2 separate regions of the Homo sapiens genome follow, and region 1 is linked to region 2. The links are contacts of gene promoters, found by promoter capture Hi-C in blood cells and fetal thymus (Javierre and others, 2016). All regions are on one chromosome and are shown on one strand. Each heading gives the region's core, a stretch centred on a gene start or on the middle of the fragment in contact. The rest is flanking DNA. Distances are from core to core; before and after follow the strand shown. Region 1 holds the start of MKX (mohawk homeobox). Region 2 holds the start of ODAD2 (outer dynein arm docking complex subunit 2).

Evidence for each region. The method cuts DNA at HindIII sites, captures the fragments that hold promoters and counts their contacts. A CHiCAGO score of 5 or more calls a contact.
Region 1: the fragment with the promoter of MKX here is called in contact with the fragment with the promoter of ODAD2 in region 2 in 15 of 17 cell types (M0 macrophages, M1 macrophages, total B cells and 12 more); the score reaches 9.7 in M0 macrophages.

The regions. Positions count from the first base shown.
Region 1 is chr10:27,742,853-27,747,296 of GRCh38, reverse strand. It overlaps MKX (mohawk homeobox), which reads left to right and starts at 1,478. Exons shown (of 7, transcript NM_173576.3): 1 at 1,478-1,590; 2 at 3,800-4,069. The coding sequence starts at 3,882. MKX-AS1 (MKX antisense RNA 1) reads right to left here and starts at 2,682. Exons shown (of 2, transcript NR_121652.1): 1 at 2,349-2,682. RefSeq lists enhancers at 1,397-1,987, 4,338-4,407. The HindIII fragment of the contact is 8,324 bases long and covers 420-4,444 here.
Region 2 is chr10:27,995,877-28,000,685 of GRCh38, reverse strand. ODAD2 (outer dynein arm docking complex subunit 2) reads left to right here and starts at 1,607. Exons shown (of 20, transcript NM_018076.5): 1 at 1,607-1,692. The HindIII fragment of the contact is 2,296 bases long and covers 346-2,641 here.

The DNA.
Region 1 (4,444 bases), core at 229-2,728, 250 kb after region 2:
ACTCACACCACAAGGGCAGCGCCAAAGACAAGATGCAAGCGCTGCAACAGCAAGTTATATAACAAAAGAGAACCGAGGACATCAGAACGTGCTCCAATGATACTTTGTATCTTCCTGGTGCGCAAAAATGTAAACCGGCCTTCCTTTATGGTTTACATTGTACCCCTGCACAACGGTTTGCTATCGCGTAATTTGGGAGGTGACACATATGAAATTTGAGGGTGTGATTAGTCTTTAAAATAATAGTTTTGGTATATATTTTAAGCACTTCTAGCGACCCCCCCAACACACAAACACACACACACACACGCGCACACACACACACACACACGAAGAAGATGCTAAGGTGGGCCACTGCCCCGGCTCTGGCCAGCCGCATTTAGAGGGGAAAAGGACAAATGGCGCTATTTCTTTAAGCTTGGTGGGGGGAAATCTAAGTTTGTTCTTTAAAAAGGGCGAAAGTTCGCTAGGACCACAGGGCCTTCGGCGAGAGCGCAGGCAGCTTCGTGTTGGCACCTTGGGGATCTTCTGGGCTGCCAGAAGCTCTGAGCTTGCAGTTGCACCTAAACCGCCGCTTTCGCTACTTATATTTGCGGTAATGTTAGGAAGCAAAGTATCATCAATCAGAGAATCTGGTAGCCATTCTCTCTCTTTGCCCTGTGTCCCAGCTTGTGATTCTTCTAAGTTCCATCTCCTTTGCTGCGTGCAGATCCTTGGCTTTGGGCGCGCTTCCTCTTCTGCACTTGGGCCACCGCGGGTTGGCCACCTGGGCTGAACTCATCCCATCCTTGCTTTCCCCCATCCCTATACCCAGCGGCGAGGGCAGCCTCACCAGCCCTTGCCCCGGAGGTGAATGTGTGCCTGGCTTTGACTGAGACAACTAGGACCCCAGAAGCCCAGTGACATCAGAAAAGAGGCTCCTGGGCACTAGCACTTCCCGCAATACGCTCCAGGGCTGTAGGTGCAAAACGGAGCTCTAACTTCCCTCCAGCTAATCGAGAGGAAAATACAGGGCGCGTCACAGTGGCCTCTCCCGCCTAGCCACGCGCAGTGAAATTTCCGGCAATCGGGCCAGCTAAGACACGGGATTTGCACCGCAGCCTCTCAGCTTCTGGAGCCGGAGCCGAGCGCTCCCGGCAGCTTCTCCAATTTCTCTCCTAAAGTGCGAAGGGAAAAGCCCCGTCTGCTCCACGACTGCAAGGCCGGCGGATCTGGGAGCCGCGCCCGGCTCCGGAGGACTCGGCGGGCCCGGGGCTCCCCGGCAGCGGCTCCTCTGCTAGGGGTTAACAGCAGCCCCCGCGGCCGGGCGGGCGCGGACGCTTCCTCTCCACCCGCCCGGGAACGTGGATACCGCGCCCGCAGGATGTTCGCCGGCTGGGACCGGCAGTCAGGAAACATGAGAAGGCCTCGCTATTCCTGTTCCCGGGCGGCGCGCGCCGGGCTGGGTAAATAAAGCCGAGACGACGGCGGTGGCGGTGGTGAGCGCGCTGGAGCCCGCGTGGAGAACATGCGGCGGGGATGGGAGTGCGCCTAGTCTCGAGGCGGGAGAGCCAGCCGCCCTGCAGCCGGCCGTCGGCCCCGCAGCCACAGGTACAGCCCCCGCGTCGCCGAGTCTCAGCCGGCTGCGGCGGAACGCCAGGCTCGCTCTGGCCCCTGCGCCCTGGGCGCCGGTGCTCTCCCGCCCTTCCCCCAACTTCCCTCCAAGGTCTGGTGGAGAGGCGCTCGGGTAGCGGCCAAGGCTGGCCCAAGGGTCTGCGCGGAGCTTGGGAGCCCACCTGGCCGCGCCTCCTTTGCTTTAAAATTATTCGCCGGCGTTGGGGGAGGGGGACACTTCTGCAGGGAGTGACCTCCCCGGCCACAGTCTGGAGTGAATCGGGGTAAGTGATTTGAGAAGAGGCGCGGGTGGCCGCGCGCGGGAGTCCTGGGAGGGTCAGCAAGTGTGGTTCACACGCCCCCGGACCCCTTGCGACAGGACAGCGCTCGGACCTTTGCCATCGCTTGCCTCTGAGCCTGCTGCCTGCAGACCTACAGCGCGCCGGGTGTCTGTGTCTGCGATCTCTGCGTGGGCTTGGGGCTGCCGGGGAAGTGTCCGAGGTGGCTAACCTCGTGATGACTTCGCTAGGAAAAACACGTCGTCGCATCTAGGAGGACGCGCTGGGGTGGCTCGGAGAAGGCCGGGCCGGGGAAGGGTGTCTTGTACAAATAAAGCAGCATGAACACACATCCCTAAGGGCATGATTTTAAAAGAAAACACCAACGCGAGTCTTGACTGTAGAACAGGGGCTGCAAGCACGAAAATTCTCTTTGACACTTATCACCGAGGCTATGTGCACACCCCAGGCACGTACCTGTCTGCGCGGGAGGACGCAGTCCTAGGGGACACACGACATCCAGCAGAGGTCTGACTTCACTTCCCTACGAACACAGACCGTAGCCGTCGTTTGATCGCGGTGGTCACGCGTGGTCCTAAATGTCACGCGTGGCCTCTGCTGCGGTGGCCGAAGGGCGGGGCGGGGGCGTTGGCGAGTGTGGGCGCTTGGCGAGGCAAAGGGTGTGTGTGTGTGTGTGTGTGTGTGTGTGTGTGTATGCGCGCGCGCGTGTGTTAGTGGAGTAGCAGCCCATGCCGCGGCTGGACGGGCAAAGGGGGCGCTGGCAGCGAAGCTGAGGCCGCTCGGAGGAAACGGGAGCTGTCCCGAGGCGCGAGGCGAGGAGATGGGGCGGGCGAAGTCCGCCGCGCGCCTTGGGGCTGTAACTCTGCGGCTCCGCGGCCGCGCGGACTTGCTCCTGACGCCGGTGCGCGGCAGGCAGAGGCTCAGGGCCTCCGCGACCCCAGAGGTGAGCTGCTGGCTCTCCCCGACAGTGGCAGCAGTGGCCCGGGAGGTGCGCCGACCAAGCTGCCTCCTGCCTTGGGCTTCTGACACCTTTACAGCCTCTGAAAGGGTCCCCGGAGACCCCAGAGAGAGGCGGGTGTCGAGGGGCTACGAGCTCGCGGCTGACACCCGCGCTGCGGAAGAGAATGGCACTGATTGAGGGCTCTGGGGACCTGGGTCCTGGCGCCTTGGACCTTAGGACCATGCACTTCCCGGGGCGCGTTGGGGGATGATAGGAAGATTCTGGGAGAGAAGGGGGAGAAGTGGTGCTTTCGTCCTGACGCCACTTAACTTTTTCCTGTCCTTGAACCCAACCTCACCCCGGGGGACCTTGGCGGACAGAAGATGCGGGGGTTTCAACCAAACCATCCACGATCTAGAAAACACGAAAATCCCCCAAATCCCGGTATGGCCTGGGACTCATGAGCTGGGGGGTCTTGTGGATACGGTTGGCACATTACCCCAAATCTTCCCTTCCATCCAACCCCTCCTGACGCCCCGAGTTGGGGTTCCTAGAGGCTTTAGTCTTCTGCTGTGATTGAAGAACCACGCGCGGCCTCACGCCGGTCGCGCTCCGCAGTCCGGAGTATGCCTCTCCCAGATTCAAACTGAAACCCAGAGGCTCGTTTGGGAATTCGTTTCCTTTGCCTCTGCGGGTGAATGATTCCCGGTTGTAGTTCTGGGGAGTGAAGGGATTGGGGGGATCGATCGCCCAGGCAAGGAAGAGGGCAGGTACCTGTCCGGGGAACCTGCAGGGGCGGGGGCGTGTAGCCAACTGGGGAGAGCCGCAGGGTCCCTGCCAGTTGCGGCGGCGCCGCTCCTCCCCTCGGCTCCGCAGCCCGGCGACCCGGCCAAGTTCAAGGCCCTGAACCTGCAGGGGTCTGAGCACTCTCAGCCAGTAAGTAACGAGATGCACCTTCCTCTCCTAGAAGCCGAGCCCCGCTGCGGAGCTCCCGGCGGCCCAGCCCCGAGGCTCTGCGGCCGCGCCGCGCGTCCCTACCAACCGACACCATGAACACCATCGTCTTCAACAAGCTCAGCGGTGCGGTGCTGTTTGAGGACGGAGGCGCCTCGGAGCGGGAGCGGGGTGGCCGGCCCTACAGCGGTGTCCTGGACAGTCCTCACGCCCGCCCCGAGGTGGGCATTCCCGACGGCCCGCCCCTCAAGGACAACCTCGGCCTGAGACACCGGAGGACCGGGTATGCGCACTCCCCTGGGGGCCCTGCCCGCCTGCGGCCCGGAGGGGTGGGGGTGGTGAGCTGTGACGGGGTCCCGTGGCAACGCGGGCGGGTGGACGGGAAAGGGCCCGGAGTTCCCTGGGAGTGCAGGTCTGCCCCTCCAGGGCTCGCGCATTCTCATGTTAAGGGGCTCCTATCTTAAAACATGAGGGATCAATTCGTCGGGGCAGCTCCAAAGAGCTTGGTGGAGACTAAGGGCGCCAGGAGCTGCCCCTCGGCCCTCCGCTGCCTGGACCTCGGAGTTGGGGGTTATTTGCCCCTCTCCGGACTGTGGGTGCCGGTGCGCGGCTGAGGGCGAGGAAAAAGGACTGAGCTCGGTGCAGAGAAACAGGCGAA
Region 2 (4,809 bases), core at 358-2,857:
TGGGTTCTGGCTTTTTCCAGCTTTGCAAACCAAGGTGAAATGTCCTGAACTTGGAAGATCTCTGGCTGGCATCCACATTGGACCCAGTAATGCTCCCTTATGTCATACAGCTGATTAAAATGTGCAGAGGAACTAAAGTACCCACAGAAGCTTCCTTGCTTCCAGGACTGGGACTACTCCAGGATCCTTCCGAAGGATGCCCTCTGCTCCTCACCAGGTTGTGACCTGCATTACCGCCACAGGTGTGATGCTGTTGTCTCAGACTGTAATCCACCCATTTTTAAAAGGGCTTCTCTGTATACCTATTAGCATAAGCCCCTTTCTCACTGGTTGCAAGTCTAAGCTTCTCTGCAGGTAGTATCTCCTTTAGGTGAAACTATTCCATTCCTAACAACTTTCGCACTTTCAAAAAGAGAAGAAAAGAACCCAAAACAGGCCAGGCATGGTGGCTCATGCCTGTAATCCTAGCACTTTGGGAGGCCGAGGTGGGTGGATCACTTGAGGTCAGGAGTTCAAGACCCACCTGGCCAACATGGTGAAACTTCGTCTCTACTAAAAGTACAAAAATTAGCCGGGCATGGCGGCGCATTCTTGTAATCCCAGCTACTCAGGAAGCTGAGGGGGGAGGATCTCTTGAACCCGGGAGGCAGAGGTTGCGGTGAGCCGAGATGGGAGGCAGAGGTTGCGGTGAGCCGAGATCGTGCCACTGCACTCCAGCCTGGGTGATAGAGCCAGACTTCGTCCCCCACCCTCCAAAAAACCCAAAACAAAGGACAAATATCTATACCTCATATCCCTACGTGTTTGCAGAAAGGTTCTGCTTTGAGCTGAATCCGTATAATATTATGACAGGTGATATCCTAACATCATTCCACATTTGCCTCTTTGGCATCCGGAAAAGAATCCAGTTTTAATTCCTAAACACCCCATCATCCTAAGTGCTCCGGCATTGGTCCTTAAACACCGTGTCCCCCCACCCCAAGATAGTGCATTCTTCCCCATCCCCCCCCACCTCAATATTCCCACTCCTTTATCCCTCACTGGTGTTCCAGTTGGGGCTCTTGCTGGTAGGGTGTCTAGAGGTGGGGTCAAAACCATCTTAATGGACAAAGGTAAAGGCCATTTAAAAAAAGAGATGGGGGACATGTTTTCATTTCACTCCGATCCTCTGCCCTATTGAAGAGCGCTTTCTGCTTTCCCGGTGAGTATCAGAGTATTCTACCATATTTGTTTTTTTGGAGAGAAACATGTAAGCCTCAAATATCCTAGGAGAAGCCCTATGCTATTTGGGGGTACTCAGTGAAGATTTCAGGTACATACAACGCACTTGTCTGGAAGCCTATGGAAAAATGTAAAAAGGGGTTTCTAAGGAATATTTTCTGCTTCCTTTCTGCTCCATTTTAAGTTTTCTGCTAACTTGCCGCCGACCCCGCAACTGCTCACGACCTCTGTCAAAGTCAACCTTTCCCACCGCGTGGAGTGAGTTAGGGTGCACACTCGGGAGTTGCATAAAAGTGTTTGAGAAAGGGAGATGCAAAGTTGAATAAAAGTGTTTCCCGGGAGGGGCCGAGCGGAAAGCAGCAGGTGGCCGGGGCGGGTGGAACCCAGCGCGGGCGCAGAGCGTCTCTGGCGCGGGCATACGGTGCAACGGGTCCGCGGGAATCTTGGATGCGCGGAGGTCCCGAGACCAGGGTAACGGACTGGGCTGCGGTCGCGGCCGGGTGAGGCTGGGAGCGGAAGGCGGCGGCGGCGGCGCCCGGGGGAGGGCACGGGCCCTGTAGGCCTCCCACAAGGGCGCCGGCGTGCGCGGCCGCAGGGCGCGCAGTGTTGACCCGCGTCCTAGCAACAGGCGGGCGCCGACTGCGGGGGGCAGGGTGCTGCAGGTGAGTGCGGCTGGGGGTCTCCACGCTCACCCCCGCAGGGGTTCTGCAGCCGCCCGCGTGGATCGGGAAACAGAGGCGGCTCTCTGGCCCCGCCGCTGCCGCTCTCGCCTGCTCCCCTTTCCCTCCCGGGGACCAAGACCCGCCCCCTTCCCTTCTCTCTCCCAGCCCCATCTCACTCCTTCCTCCCCGCGAGACCCTGCCTCGGCCCTAGGTTGGGGACCGTCTGCTCCTCAGTCCCTGCGCCCCTCTCTGCACTACCTCGGCCCCATCACCTCCCGGATCCGCTCTCCACTTCTCCCGCCGCTTCCCTGCCTCTCCTTCCCCCAGCCCGTCTTTCTCCTCCGCCCTTTGCAGCTCTGCCTCCCGCTCCCAGCGTGGTTTTCGCCGTCCCTTCCCTCCTCGTCCCCTTACCGAATCCATTCCTGGAAACTTAGGGTCTCAGCTCTGACGCCCCCTTCTTGTAACGAGTCTGGTGGGGGCCGTCATCCCACACTAGGCTTAGCTTTGGTTTTACTTAGGGCCCTGTTCATGTCATGTCTAAAAGTTCGATTTTCTGTCGGTCTTACTGAGTAACTTCTGCATTCTCAGAAAGCAGTGTATGCGCGGACTCCCCGTGGATGTTACCAACCACATTTCATAGATCTCAGAGCTGATGGCTGCCTTTCCGTAGCCCCCTAAAGAATTCGGTTGTGCTTCTGTTTAAGTGTTAACGATGTGATTACCGAATGGGTTTCATTTCACTAATGATGCTGGAAGCTTGAAATTGACCTTTAGAAAGAAAAACAATCTGTGGTATCTATTGGATAAAGAGAAAAATGAGTGCTAAGTGATTCCCAGTTTATGTAAACATCCCAGTTTATGTAAACACGTAACCAAAACTTTTTTCCTTTTAATCTTTAAACTTACTTTCTTTACTTCAAAGGTGTGTGCTGTGTATTTACATGGATTCATTTTAACTATGGTTCTTAAGCCAAAAGAGCTTGGCAATGGGCAGAAACCGGGGAGCAACTGGTCTTGATTTTAAAATCTTAGTTTTGAGTTATGCCGACCATTTTTGAACACCATTTATTTATTTATTTATTTTCTAATAACATTGATCTTGCCTTCTGGATTGTCATAGGCCACCCTGAGGTTTTCTTAAACTCACCAACCTTCTTGAATAAAACTTGTGCATTGCTACGGTTCACTAGACTTGGAAATACAATTTGAATAGATTCAAATGTTACATTTCTGTCAAAATTTATCTTGACGAAAATAACGATTTTGCATTTCTTAATTCTGTGTTAAGGGTCCTTCAAGAAGTTACTATATGGTATGTTGACTACCATAGCGTTACATAATCTATTTAATTTCGCATTTTTTCTTTAAAAATGTGCAAGAAGCAATCTTTATAAGATTACCAAAACAAATGTTATACTTAAGATTAAAGACAGACAGAACTTTCACCTAAGCCTTTCTGTATAAGATAAAGCTATTTGCACTTATTTCACACTATTTTACACTGATTTGCACTTATTTTACACAACAATGGGAAATTCAAGAGTCTCACACATACACATCAGAACATGTTTATGTGTTTAAATCTAAAGCATTTCTCATCGGTTAGCAATAGAAACAAAATGCTAGAATACTAAAACAAACACCCAGAACAAATTTGTGCACTAATTTCTGCACTTTATTTCATGACCACTTTGGTATATATGTCTGGATCAGTTGTTCTCCACCCTATCTGATCCAGTACTTGGTTTTTATAGCATATATGTTGTAAGGCTGCTTTGCTATCCTGAAATCAATATCATAGATTATAATCTTACATATTTAATATAGTTTTAAATATTGATAGTGTGCTAACTGTAAAATGAAAGAAAATAATTGTAAGAAAAGATTGGCATGTAAACGCTCAAGTACCACTACACTAGAATATATAGGGAAGTAGTCAGATGTCCAGCCTTACACAGAATGACTGTGAACACAGCAGCCCCAAATGCAGACTGATACAGATGTGCCATTGCAACTTAAATTTCTCAAATAACATTGCCATCAATGGTGTCATTTTCCAAAATGCTGAGCTCTTGGTAAAATTCCATGTAAAACAAAATATGTACAACCTTCTTTTCGTTTATGGTAGCTACAATTCTGGAAAATTCAGGGTGTAATAAAACTGTGACAAAATACTCTGCAATTTTTGCAAAGTGCAGAAAAATTCTAGGCTCAGGTAGTGCTTATCTGAAGTTTTTCACTTACTAGATGCCTGGAGGTTACAGCAGAATTCTTCCTTCTGAGGTACTATCCTGCACAGGATATTTTACATTGTCGGTCCTCAACACTAAAGGCCGATAATGCCCCCTTTCCTATCATGTTGATAACTAGACATCTCTATAATATTTCTATACTCTTTATCAGCAGGAAGTACTGCCCTGTTGCCATCCAGTGATCTCCTGTGATTGAATTTAATAGATAGTTCAAAGATTTAATACAGTACAGAATGTAAAATCTCCAAGTCTAATCTTTGTACTTTAAGCCTTTTTAATAATGATGGGAGTAAAAAGCCAATTTTATTCTATATTTAACCGTATAACCATTCTTCTAATATTCTGGAAGAAAGATTTTATCAATAAGTGCTATACAAAAGAGAAAAGAAACAAGTATAGATTATCTGCCAAAAAAGCATTAAATGTTCATTATGAAGTCAGAACGTGCTTTCTAACTTGGCTCTTATTTAACGTTACAGATTTTGTTACTTTTTAAAAGATCTTCTTTTACAGACTAATTTCTATTTAGCCAATGTGAAATTTGTCTCACTTGAATTGGTTTTAAATTTTACTGCTAGACTCTTCTGATAACTAATTTAGATAAAAAGGCTGAAAGAGTCTCACTTATTCCTACATCTCTCACATTAACTCTTAAGAAGGTTGTGAATTACAGT